Regions from separate parts of the Homo sapiens genome. Here region 2 is linked to region 1. The links are contacts of gene promoters, found by promoter capture Hi-C in human tissues and cell types (Jung and others, 2019). All regions are on one chromosome and are shown on one strand. The core of a region is centred on a gene start or on the middle of the fragment in contact, and the rest is flanking DNA. Distances in the headings are between cores, read along the strand shown. Region 1 holds the start of ACOT6 (acyl-CoA thioesterase 6). Region 2 overlaps FAM161B (FAM161 centrosomal protein B).

The links. Contacts are between HindIII fragments. The study calls those that stand out against the background at their distance.
Region 2: a contact is called between a fragment that was not itself captured here and the fragment with the promoter of ACOT6 in region 1, in 2 of the 25 tissues and cell types used here (IMR-90 fibroblasts and spleen).

The regions. Positions count from the first base shown.
Region 1 is chr14:73,608,464-73,614,836 of GRCh38, forward strand. ACOT6 (acyl-CoA thioesterase 6) reads left to right here and starts at 4,054. Exons shown (of 3, transcript NM_001365788.1): 1 at 4,054-4,569. The coding sequence starts at 4,109. It also overlaps a transcript of HEATR4 not described here. RefSeq lists enhancers at 4,165-4,214, 4,232-4,731, 4,265-4,314 and a silencer at 5,390-5,634. The HindIII fragment of the contact is 22,654 bases long and covers 1-6,373 here.
Region 2 is chr14:73,940,894-73,946,441 of GRCh38, forward strand. It overlaps FAM161B (FAM161 centrosomal protein B), which reads right to left. Exons shown (of 9, transcript NM_152445.3): 2 at 5,393-5,548; 3 at 3,442-3,992; 4 at 1,476-1,822; 5 at 33-160. Among named protein-coding and RNA genes, the nearest start is that of FAM161B, 6.4 kb to the right of the region's middle. The HindIII fragment of the contact is 9,683 bases long and covers 1-5,548 here.

The DNA of each region.
Region 1 (6,373 bases), core at 2,804-5,303:
TCAGCCTGGACTTCATTGTTCATATCACTATCAGCATTTTGGTGAAAGCCATTTAATGAGCCTCTAGGAAGTTCCAAACTTTCTCACATCTTTCTGTCTTCTGAGCCCTCCAAGTCTCTAGGCAGTTCTAAACTTTCCCACGCTTTCCTGTCTTCTTCTGAGCCCTCTAAACGGTGCCAACTGCTGCCTGTTACCCAGTTCCAAAGTCGCTTCCACATTTTTGGGTATCTTTACAGCAGTGCCCCACTCTCTGTGATACTAACTTACTGTATTAGTCTGTTCTCACACTGCTAATAAAGACCTACCTGAGATGGGATAATTTACGAAGGAAAGAGATTTAATTGACTCACAGTTCAGCATGGCTGAGGAGGCCTCAGGAAACTTACAATCATGGCAGAAGGGGAAGCAAACATGTCCTTCACATGGCGGCAACAAAAAGTGCTGAGCAAAAGGGGGAAAGCCTTTATAAAACCATCAGATCGCATGAGAACTCACTCACTATCACCAGAACAGCATGAGACTAACCACCCCCATGATTCAATTTCCTCCCACCAGGTCCCTCCCAGGACATATGGGGATTATGGGAACTATAATTCAAGATGAGATTTGGGTGGGGACACAGCCAAACCATATCAGGTGTAATGCTAACCCTCTGTGTACAGGTTTTGTGAACGATATTGATTGTATGGGGGAGACTGAGCTCATGTCACTATGCCATCAATGAGAATTGGCTGGTGAATACCAATCCTCCATAGCCATGACTGGGTTGCTGAATAAAATGATGCAGTGTGCATCCAAAAGCTGCCTCTTCCTCTGTGGGTGATCTGGGAGTGAGCCAAACATGGGATGGACAATGTCATACCTGGAAAGCTGGCAGATGATGGGATCCTGGACATTGGGCATGCTGGGGGTGCTCCTGCATATCACCCCTGGGTACAAGAAACATCATTGGGCCAGTAGTCTAAAAGTATGCACCATGCTTATTAGGAACCTGCCAGGTCGTGGCTGATTCTAGGTTTAGGTCCTCTATGAAATTTTTGGTACCATATATAGGAGTCAGTGCTCATGAAAAAAATGATAAGAAAACTGTGCCTGATATTGCTGCTTCCAGTGCCACTGCCTTGGCAGCACAGGGACATCCTTCAACTCCCTTGGGAAGGTTGTTCTATTATTTATTTTATTTTATTTTATTTTTGAGACAGAATCTCGCTCTGTTACCCAGGCTGGAATGCAGTGGTGCGATCTCGGCTCACCACAACCTCTGCCTCCCGGGTTCAAGCAATTCTCCTGCCTCAGCCTCCCGAGTAGCTGGGACTACAGGCACGCACCACCATGCCTGGCTAATTTTTGTATTTTTAGTAGAGACGGGGTTTCACCATGTTGGCCAGACTGGTCTCAAACTCCTGACCTCGTGATCCACCCGCCTCAGCCTCCCAAAGTGCTGAGATTACAGGCATGAGCCACCGCGCCTGGCCAGGTTGTTTTAAACAACAGAATTCCTCTACCCTTTTTTTTTTTAGACTAATTGGGAGGAGTGTGTGCCACTGCCAACACCTCCTGGTGTACCTGGATAAACACCTCAGGCATGGTGGAGACATAGGTAGAGGATCTGGAAGCAGGCCTACTGGTTGCAGTCAGAGTGGCTACCTAAAGAATCTTTCTTGGACCTCAAAACTTCTTGCCTGGATCACTAGGACTTGGGGGTAGGCCACAGCTCCAAGCAAGCCTGATCATCCTGCTTATTATAGTAGTCTCCTGGGCCTAATGCAATATATTCCGGCCATGGCTTAACAATGTTGCACCGAGATTGTTTCAGTCAAGTGTCGCTTTTTTTTTTTTTTCTTTTAGAGGGAGTCTTGCTCTGTCGCTCAGGCTGGAGAGCAGTGGCGAGATCTCGGCTCACTGCAATCACCACCTCCCGGGTTCAAGCAATTCTCCTGCCGCCGCCTTCTGAATAGCTGGGATTACAGGCGCGTGCTGCCACGTTCAGCTAATTTTTGTATTTTTAGTAGAGACAGGGTTTCACCATGTTGGCCAGGCTGGTCTCAAACTCCTGACCCCAAGTCATCCGCCCCCCTCGGCCTCCCAAAGTGCTGGGATTACAGGCATTAGCCACCGTGCCCGACCAAGGTGCCATATTAATATGATCAGACAAACCTCTGCCTCCAGATCCTGGGGGTCTGGAGGGCATATGAAATGTACTAGGTTTACTAAAGGAGGTATCTGGGTTGGGGATGGACTGCAGGGCAGTTCTCTGGTTGGCCTTGGACTGACTCAGTTCTCCCCTCTTTCTCACTAGTAGTTCTCAAGCATAGAACGTGCTGGGAATGTAACATCCTGAGAGAGGGACGGACTGGCTGGAATAGCCCTGGCTCTATTCCAGCCCCTCCCTACAAACAGGATGTCTTTCAATGCTTTAACCCAGCAGTCACATGACCCCAGAGTACAAAACTCAGGGCAGCTGCAGTGCAAGTGGGGCACACACACATGAGATTCCATCACCCAGGCAGCATTCCTGAGCCTTGGGGGACTGGTTTCCAATGATTCTTAGGCTTCTGTCATTCTTTGCTGCCTATCTGTAAGTAATAAATCCAGTTCATGTAAATTGTTGTATTAAATATATGAATGTGTTTTCTCACTGGACTCAGACAAGTTGGTAACCAGCATACAGTGAACTTGCTTCATAGAGTCTAATACCTTTTTGTTCAGTTTATACATGTTTACTGAGCTGGGCATCACTATATGCTCTTCTTCCTTCTCCACCCTGCTATGTTCCCAGCTAGGTTGAGCTGTGTGGTTGGGTTTGGCCAAAGAGAGGCATTAGCAAGATACTGAAAAACAAGAGGAGAGTCAAGGGACTTATAGTCTCCTCCTTCCTGCCACAAACCATAGGTTCCTTCTAAAAAAGGTACAACTCCTATCAGACTGCCCCCTTCCCTTGAACCTTCAGATTCAGGGTTCTACACCGAATCTTGTTTCATTGTTTTTGTTTTTAAATCTTGCCCATGCCTTTGTAGATAGTACCTTTATAAAACTCTCCTCAATTACACAGGCTGAGAGTGCCACTTGCTTACTGCCAGAACTCTGTATGCATACAACCCAAAATGGACTCTGCCAGTGATTAGATTTGTGAGGTAAGAAACAAAACAAAACTTTCACTGGGTACTAACCTACAGGTGTGTCAGTGTAGTGTTTTTACACATTAGCCCATTTAATGGTCACAATAAGCCTTTTCAGATAAGAAAACTGAATTTAGAGGGTTATGTTTCTTGCTAAAGATCACCAGGTATTAATATTAAGGATCAGGGTCAGACCAGAACTCGGCTAGGTCTGCCTCCCTAAACATCTGCTTTGCTCCAGGTACCATTAGCCCTGGAAAAAAGGCTTGGTAAGGGACTGAGGGGTAAAGGACGGATTACGACCATGTTTCTCCAAGGGGTCACCTGAGTACAATCACCTGGGATGCTTTTTCAAAATCTAGATTCTTGGACTGTATCTCTCTCAATCCTTTAGCTCTCAGTGGTTTTTGTGCCTCTATTTCGACACTCACCACATTGGATTGCAGGAATAGTCATTAACTCTTTTTTTTTTTTTTTAGACGGAGTTTTGCCCTTGTTGCCTAGGCTGGAGTACAATGGTGCAATCTTGGCTCAATGCAACCTCTGCCTCCTGGGTTCAAGCAATTCTTCTGCCTCAGCCTCCCAAGTAGCCGGGATTACAGGCATGCGCCACCACACCTGGCTATTTTGTATTTTCAGTAGAGATGAGGTTTCACTCTGTTGGTCAGGCTGGTCTTGAACTCCTAACCTCAGGTGTGATCCACCCACCTCGGCCTCCCAAAGTTCTAGGATCACAGGCGTGATCCACCGCCCCCGGCCGGATTGGTCATTAACTCTTATTTCAGCAGATACTCTTTCATTTGGGACACTGGTGTATTTGCACAAATTCTAGGCGCCCCACGCAGCGGCCTGGAGCCTGTCCCCAAGTCCAACCAATGGGAGTAGTGTTAAGGGCTCCGCCCTCGACTACTTTCCAGCGCTCGGCAAAGCCGCCAGGCCCGCCCACTGACTCCGCGGAGCTGGGTCGCCCCTGTTCTACCCAGATTGGGATGGCAGCGACGCTGATCCTGGAGCCCGCGGGCCGCTGCTGCTGGGACGAGCCGCTGCGCATCGCAGTGCGCGGCCTGGCCCCGGAGCAGCCAGTCACGCTGCGCACGTCCCTGCGCGACGAAGAGGGCGCGCTCTTCCGGGCCCACGCGCGCTACCGTGCCGACGCCCGCGACGAGCTGGACCTGGAGCGCGCGCCCGCGCTGGGAGGCAGCTTCGCGGGGCTCCAGCCCATGGGGCTGCTGTGGGCGTTGGAGCCCGAGAAAGCCTTGGTGCGGCTGGTGAAGCGCGACGTGCGGACGCCCTTCGCCGTGGAGCTGGAAGTGCTGGACGGCCACGACACCGAGCCCGGGCGGCTGCTGTGCCTGGCGCAGAACAAGCGCGACTTTCTCCGGCCGGGGGTGCGGCGCGAGCCGGTGCGCGCGGGCCCGGTGCGCGCCGCGCTCTTCCTGCCGCCGGATGAGTAGTCTGCCCAGAATTTGGTCGAGCTCTGCGACCCCCACCGGCCCCTTTCCTGTCCTGGGAATCGCGTGATTGTGGAACATCCCTGAACTTGTTCCTTCGCTCCAGAGTCTGTCATGGATTCTGAGTCTGGGCGTCCGCTGTTGCCCAGGCTGGAGTGCCGTGGCTGGATCGTAGCTCACACTGCAGCCTCGAACTCCTGGGCTCAAGTCCTCTCGCCTCAGCCTCCTGAGTAGCTACTCCAGTCTTTCCTTTTTAAGTTTCACGTCCCTCCCTGGAGGCACCACCACTTTAGCTATGTGCTGAATAGTGCATTCAACTTATTATATATTTATTGAGAGCCACTATGTGCCAGCCATGTGGTTTTGTTTGAATACGATATGGGCAAAACCTTAAGCTGATGTGCAAGAAGGATTTTTGCCTCCTTTCACATCAAACTTCCAAAGAAGCTAAAATCCACAGTATTGGCAATGCCCTTTAATTGTTTAAAAACACACACAAAACTGCCTGACAGTCCTCTCCCTTCTATCATAAACATGCTGTACGTGGTTCTCAACCTGCAATGATTAGCCGCCCTCCCTGGGGGAAATTTGGCAATATCTGGAGACATTTGTGGTTGTCATATCTGAAGGGAGAGGTGCTATTGGCATCTAGCAGGCAGAGGCCAGAGATGCTGCTAAACATTCCACAATGCACAGGACAACCACCAGAACAAAGAATTATCTTGCTGAAAATGTCTGTACTACTGAGGTTGAGGAACCCTAGTCTAAGTAAACACAGGATGTTTGCTAGGTAAAGGTAGCCCAGAAAGAAGACTCCTGATTAATCCCTTCTAACTAAATTCCTGACTTAAACCTCTACCATATAAAAATGATGAGCCGGGCACAGTGGCTCAGGCCTGTAATCCCAGCACTTTGGGAGGCTGAGGTGGGCAGATCACTTGAGCCCAGGAGTTCAAGACCAGCCTGGGCAACATGGTGAAACTCTGTCTCTACAAAAAAAAAAAAAAAAAAAAAAAAATTAGGCAGGCATGGTGGTGCATGCCTGTAGTCCCAGCTGCTTGGGAGGCTGAGGTGGGAGGATTGTTTGATATCAGGAAGTAGAGGTTGCAGTGAGCTGAGATCACGCCACTGCATTCCAGCCTGGACAACAGAGTGAAACCCTGCCTCAAACAACAACAACAACAACAAATTCTAGAGTTGCAACAGCACATAGAATCCTTAAACCGAATTCTGTGATTATTCTCCAAAACAAGAAAACTTGCTTTATTTTTACAGCTCTTCAGCAATTCTTAGCCTTAACTCGTGGCTGCCCACTGTACTGTGAATTCCTGGGGCTGGAATTGGGTCTTACAGATTTCTAAATATCCATGTTCCTAGAGGCTTTCGCAAGGATATAGTAGGAGCTCAATAAATCATACTGACTGGGCCAGGCGCAGTGGCTCACACCTGTAATCCTAGCACTTTGGGAGGCTGAGGTGGGTGGATCACTTGAGGCCAGGAGTTCAAGACTAGCCTGGCCAACATGGCAAAACCCTACCTCTACTAATTATATAATACAAAAAAATTAGCCAGGCATAGTGGCTCACACATGTAGTCCCAGCTACTAGGGAGGCTGAGGTGGGAGAATCGCTTGAACCCGGGAGGCTGAGGTTGCAGTGAGCCAAGATTGCGCCACTACACTTCAGCCTGGGCGACAGAGCGAGACCCTGTCTCAAAAAAAAAAAAAAAAAAATCACACTGACTAAGAATCAACTAAAACCTTTCATTAAAAACAAACAAGGAGCCGGGCGCAGTGGCTCACGC
Region 2 (5,548 bases), core at 260-2,759, 330 kb after region 1:
GAGCATGGGTCTCGTGCAGCCTGACCACTCACCTGACTGCAGATTCCCTCTTCCTGGTGGCATCTGTGATGTGCACAGGGAGAGTGTTGGCAGAGAGGGAAGCAAGGCCGCTCAGAGAACGACTCCTTGGCAGGGGTGTAGCTGGTGGCTGTGGGGAATCCTAGAAGAAACAAAGGTTGGTATTGGTGGGACAGCATGTGTGATTAGTTTCTATCTTTTTTTTTTTTTTTTTTTTTTGAGACAGAGTCTCGTCTCGCTCTTTTGCCCAGGCTGGAGTGCAGTGGCGCAATCTCGGCTCACTGCAACCTCCAGCTGCCTGGTTCAAGCAATTCTCCTGCCTCAGCCTCCCACGTAGCTGGGACTATACAGGTTGTGAGCCACCATGCCCAGCTACATTTTTGCAGTTTTAGTACAGACGGGGTTTCACCATGTTGGTCAGGCTGGTCTCGAATTCCTGATCTCAGGTGATCCACCCGTGTCGGCCTCCCAAAGTGCTGGGATTACAGGTGTGAACTACCGCGCCCAGCCATTTTCTATCTTTACTAGGATTCAGCTTCACTGAAGGACTGAAAATGAGAATCTTCATTTTTTTTCCTGGGAATAAGGCAAGGATAAAGAGATCTCAAGTTTCACAACCAAGCCAAGACTTGGATATCAATCCTAAAGTTTTTAGTCAAATGAGAAGAGTTCCTTGGAATTGGTATAGAGACATCAACAACTGATCCCAACTCCTTGCCTCTCAAGCCTGCTTGGACTTATTTCTGTGAAATCCTTCTACAGTAAGGGAGGAAAAGAAGTGTCCCTATGGTTTCTGTTGTGTTCTGTTTTTGAGATGAACTTTCACTCTTGTTGTCCAGGCTGGCCTGCGGTGGCACAATCTCAGCTCACTGCAATCTCCGCCTCCCAGGTTCAAGCAATTCTCCTACCTCAGCCTCTGAAGTAGCTGGGATTACAGGTGCCCGCCACCGCACCCAGCTAATTTTTGTATTTTTAGTAGAGATGGGGTTTTGCCATGTTGGCCGTGCTGGTCTCGAACTCCTGACCTCAGATGATCTGCCCTCCTCGGCCTCTCAAAGTGCTGGGATTAAAGGCGTGAGCCACCACGCCTGGCCTGTTTTTTGTTGTTGTTTTTAGATGGGGTCTCACTCTGTTGCCTAGGCTGGAGTACAGTGGCATCATCTTGGCTCACTGCAGCCAGAAGGTCCTCCCACCTCAGCCTCCTGAATGGCTGGAACTACAGGTACACACCACCACATGTGGCAAATATTTGTATTTTTCTTTTAGAGATGGGGTCTCTGTTGCCCAGGCTGGGCTGTGGTCTGGAGTTTATAGGAAAGTGAATCTGCTTACAACTGAGCTGGTGTTTAAAAAAAAGATAGGAAAACCTTGTTGAGAAGTGCTTTCCAGGAAGACCTGGCCCCACCCTGTATTTCAGGCCGCAGCCCTGACCCTCCCACAGCTGCCTGGGCTCTCACCTGCCTCCTTCCGGTGGTGGCAGCATCACAGGGCCGCTGAGGGTGGCGCAGGTTGGCGGTCCTCAGCAAGAAGGGCTTGTTGCGAGTGGCCTCTTGGGTTTCTCTTCTTTTGGCTGCTCTTCTCTGGAAGGCCTTGTAAAGGCCCTCATAGTCAGGGACCACAGGATTCACCCGAGGCTGGAATCTGAAGTTAGTGTGCAGAAACCCAAGCTTTTCCTGCTGGGTTCGGGTGGCTGTGCGGGGCTGTGGGTTAGCCCGGTTACTAGAGGAGGCGATAGGGGAAGAGGCCATCTGGAGCATGTCCAGGGCTCTCATTTGGATGCGAATTTTCCTGAAGAGCTCAGCTTCTGTGGAGAAAGGATGGTGATGGGTAAGAAAGGACCAAGCAAGAAACCTACAGGGTTGGAGAACTTTCCCTCTTTTACACACTAGCTGTAAGTGTTACTGGAGGCAAGTAGGAACTTTTCAGGAATTCTGACACGTTAACATCCTGTGAGATGCCTGCAGATGGCCTGAATAGGAGTAATTATGCCACAGAAAATAACAAACATTACAAACCAGCTTCCTTTTTTTTTTTTCTGGAGAGCTTGTTAATAAATGTCATCCAGAACACCACTGCCTGTGTCAATCAGGCTGCAGAAGCAGTGACCATCTACACTTACTGAGCACTTTCTATGATTGCTTCTTCAGAGATGAAGCAGAGGAAGTGGGCCAGTAACCTGCTCCTCTCCCAGGTTTCCCCATCTGAGAGAAAGGCCCTACCATCCACCCAGCTGCCCAGGCCCTTTGCCCACATCACTGACTCCTCCGTGTCTCTCATCAGTCACAAGTTCTGTCATTTCCTCCTCTTTAACCTCTCTCCAGTCCATCCTCGTTTTTTCATCCCTGCAACCAGTTGCACAATTTCTCTACTGAATTGTGAAATAGCTTCCTCTTGGCTCAACATCCCTCCAGTCTTGCTGCCCTCTCAGATTATCTATACAGCAATCAGAAGGATCCTTCTGAACTATATTTCTGATCATGGGCCACCCTGCCTCACTCCCTCAGTGGCTTCCCTGTGCCCTTGGGATGAAGTCCAGACTCGCCAACGTGGCTTGCAAAGCTCCTCATGTCTGGCCCATGCCTGCCTCTTCCTTCCCACTCCCTCTTCTCTCAGCCCTCGACCTTTCCATCCCTTGCAGATGCTCTGCTTTCTCTCCCCTCCATGCCACATTCTGCCTGCTCCACTTCTCCTCCCTCTTCGCCCCTCCTTCAGTTCAGCCCCAGGGCCCACTTTCTCAGGGGACCTTCCCTAACTGCTCCCTTGCTTCACCAATCCCCGGGTTAGGTCCCTTTGATATATGCTCCCATGCTTCCCCTTTTAATCCTTGTAAATAACTCGCCACATTTGTATGTATTTGTCTTTATCTGTTTTCCTCACATATCTACAAACTCCATGTCTGTGTGTTCACCATGGCACAGTGCCTGGAGCATGGCACATGCTACCGAAAAGTGAATAAAGCCTGAGCCCCTTATTTGGAGCTATACTTTTGGAAATGTGTAAATAATCATCCCCCAGGTAATTTCGGCGATTGACACTACCTCACCAGGACGAAGGAGCCATGGGGGAGCATCTCAGGGCAGTGTGCTGGTGGTGGCATGAGCCCAAGCTGGTCCTCAGGTGTCTCACTGGTTCTCTATTCCTGCACCTGTGCTGGTGCAGAGGCCCTCATGTGCATTCACTTAGATGTCAACAGGACGAGCCTTGGGGACACTGTGGGACCTCTCACTCCTGGCACCATACAGGTCCTGATTGTATAGACAGACCTAACCCTCCCCAATGGCCTGCACTAAGCGTGCAGCCTCTAGTGGGTCCACCCAAGCAGCAAATCTCCAAGCCAGGCAGATCCCTGGGCCCTGACTAAATCCCTATGGTGGGATTGGTTCCCCGAGGCAGGAGGCAGCAAGGTGGCAAGGATGTCTTTACCCTGGAGTTTATCCCCAAGGGCTGGCTCCAGAATGGACTTGGGAATCCTTCTGGTGGCCTTCTGCTTGGAGATCTTGGCTTCAGCTGTGGCTGCCAAGTCTCTCTGTCGAGCAGCTTCCTTTAGCTGCTCCTCCTTCTCCAGGAAGCTGAAGGGCTTCAAAGAAGAGAGGAGCAGTTCCTTCCTCTTCTGGATCCCTGCCTGCCTTCGGGCCTCGCTGCGCTCCATGATCTCTTGGTAGAGGGGCAGGTAGACATGTGCAGGCACAGGCTGTGCCCGGAACTGCCTGTGGCACTCGGCCTCTTCCTCACCCTGCCTCTGGGCCCGCTGCCTCTCCTGCTCAAAGGAGGCAGGTGAGCCCAGCCACTCGGCCTTCTTCCGGGCCTCGCGCAGCGTCATGCGGAATGGCCGAGGGACAGTAATGGATGATGCCCAGGAGCTGACGCTTCTGTGCTGGGAGGGAGGCCGGGAGCCTGAGGGTGGCTGGGTCTGAGGCCTGGGAATGTTGGAGGGAAGGTTGTTCAGGGAGCTGCAGCGCCTTGTGGAGCCACACCTGGGAAAAAAGCAGATCTGTGAGTGGAGGACAGGGCAGTCAGGAGGCCCTGCTCCCTCCAGACCTCCTCCCCAGTCCTCCCTTCCCACTGGTCACAGCTGGCTGCTCAGCCTAACACCACAGCCCCACAGGCCTCTATGTCCATGACCTTCCCACAGACAATCCTGGCAGCCCTAATGGAAAGTCTCTTCTCAGAATTGATCCAAGAACTGCCACTTTGCACTCTAATATTTCATATGAGAGAGAGAACAATGAGCAGAGTAGAGCTTTAGAGTCAGACAGACCTGGGTTTAAATCTTGCTTCAAACTTTGAGCAAAGTTCTGTTAAAACCTCAATTTCCTCCTATGTAGAGTGGCAAAAATTAATGTCTACTTACCAGGTTATTGGAGGAGAAAGTAAATATTAAATAAGATAAAGTAATGAGATAATGTACACTTTATCTCATTCAATATTTACTTTCTAAGGCTTGACCAAGATAAAGGTACTTTGTTGTCATTCTCAGGGAAAGTGTATTTAGGAAATGCTTCCCTGTATTTTTTTTTATTTTTTATTATTTATTTACTTATTTTTTGAGATGGAGTCTTGTACTGTTGCCCAAGCTGGGCGTGATCTTGGCTCACTGCAACCTCCACCTCCCAGATTCAAGCAATTCTCTGCCTCTCCTTCCGAGTAGCTGGGATTACAGGCACCTGCCACCATGCCCGGCTAATTTTTTTATATTTTTAGTAGAGACGGGGTTTCACCATCTTGGCCAGGCTGGTCTTGAACTCCTGACCTCATGATCCAGCCACCTCGGCTTCCCAAAGTGCTGGAATTAGAGGCGTAAACACGGTGCCCGGCCCATTTTTAAATTTTATTTTATTTTTATTTGTTGAGACAGAGTCTTGCTCTGTTGCTCAGGCTGGAGTGCAGTGGCGTGATCTCAGCTCACTGCAACCACCACCTCCTGGGCTCAAGGGATTCTCATGCGTCAGCCTCCTGAGTAGCTGGGATTACGGGCACACGCCACCATGACTGGCTAATTTTTGTATTTTTAGTAGAGATGGGGTTTCACCATGTTGGCCAGGCTGGTCTCGAATTCCTGACCTCAAGTGATCCGCCTGCCTCAGCCTCCCAAAGTGCTGGAATTACAGGTGTGAGCCCCTGCACCTGAGGAAAGGCTGCCCTTTAATTAATTCCAGTGCATCACTGGACTAAGTGTTGCCCAAAGTAATTCAGGATTCCTGGGGAGGAATCAGAACACCTGTTTGGAACCAAAAGCTGATTCTCAGCTAGAGCCTCAGTAAATGGCAACTTGCAGAAGTGCTCTTTGCTTTACAGAGGAAGATGAAGCCCAGAGACACGATGTGACCTGTGTGGAGGTGTGGAGTGAGGCAGCCGTGGAGCTGCAGTGCCTTACCTCAGAGCCTGCGGGCACTGGACCTGCACCATCCCCCTGTCCTTGTCTTGGAAGAAACTCTCCAGGTCCTCCTCATCTTCAGAGAGGTTTTCATCACTCTCTGGGTCAGACTGAAAGAGAGACTCCAACAGACACCATCTCCCTTTCTGCTTCAGT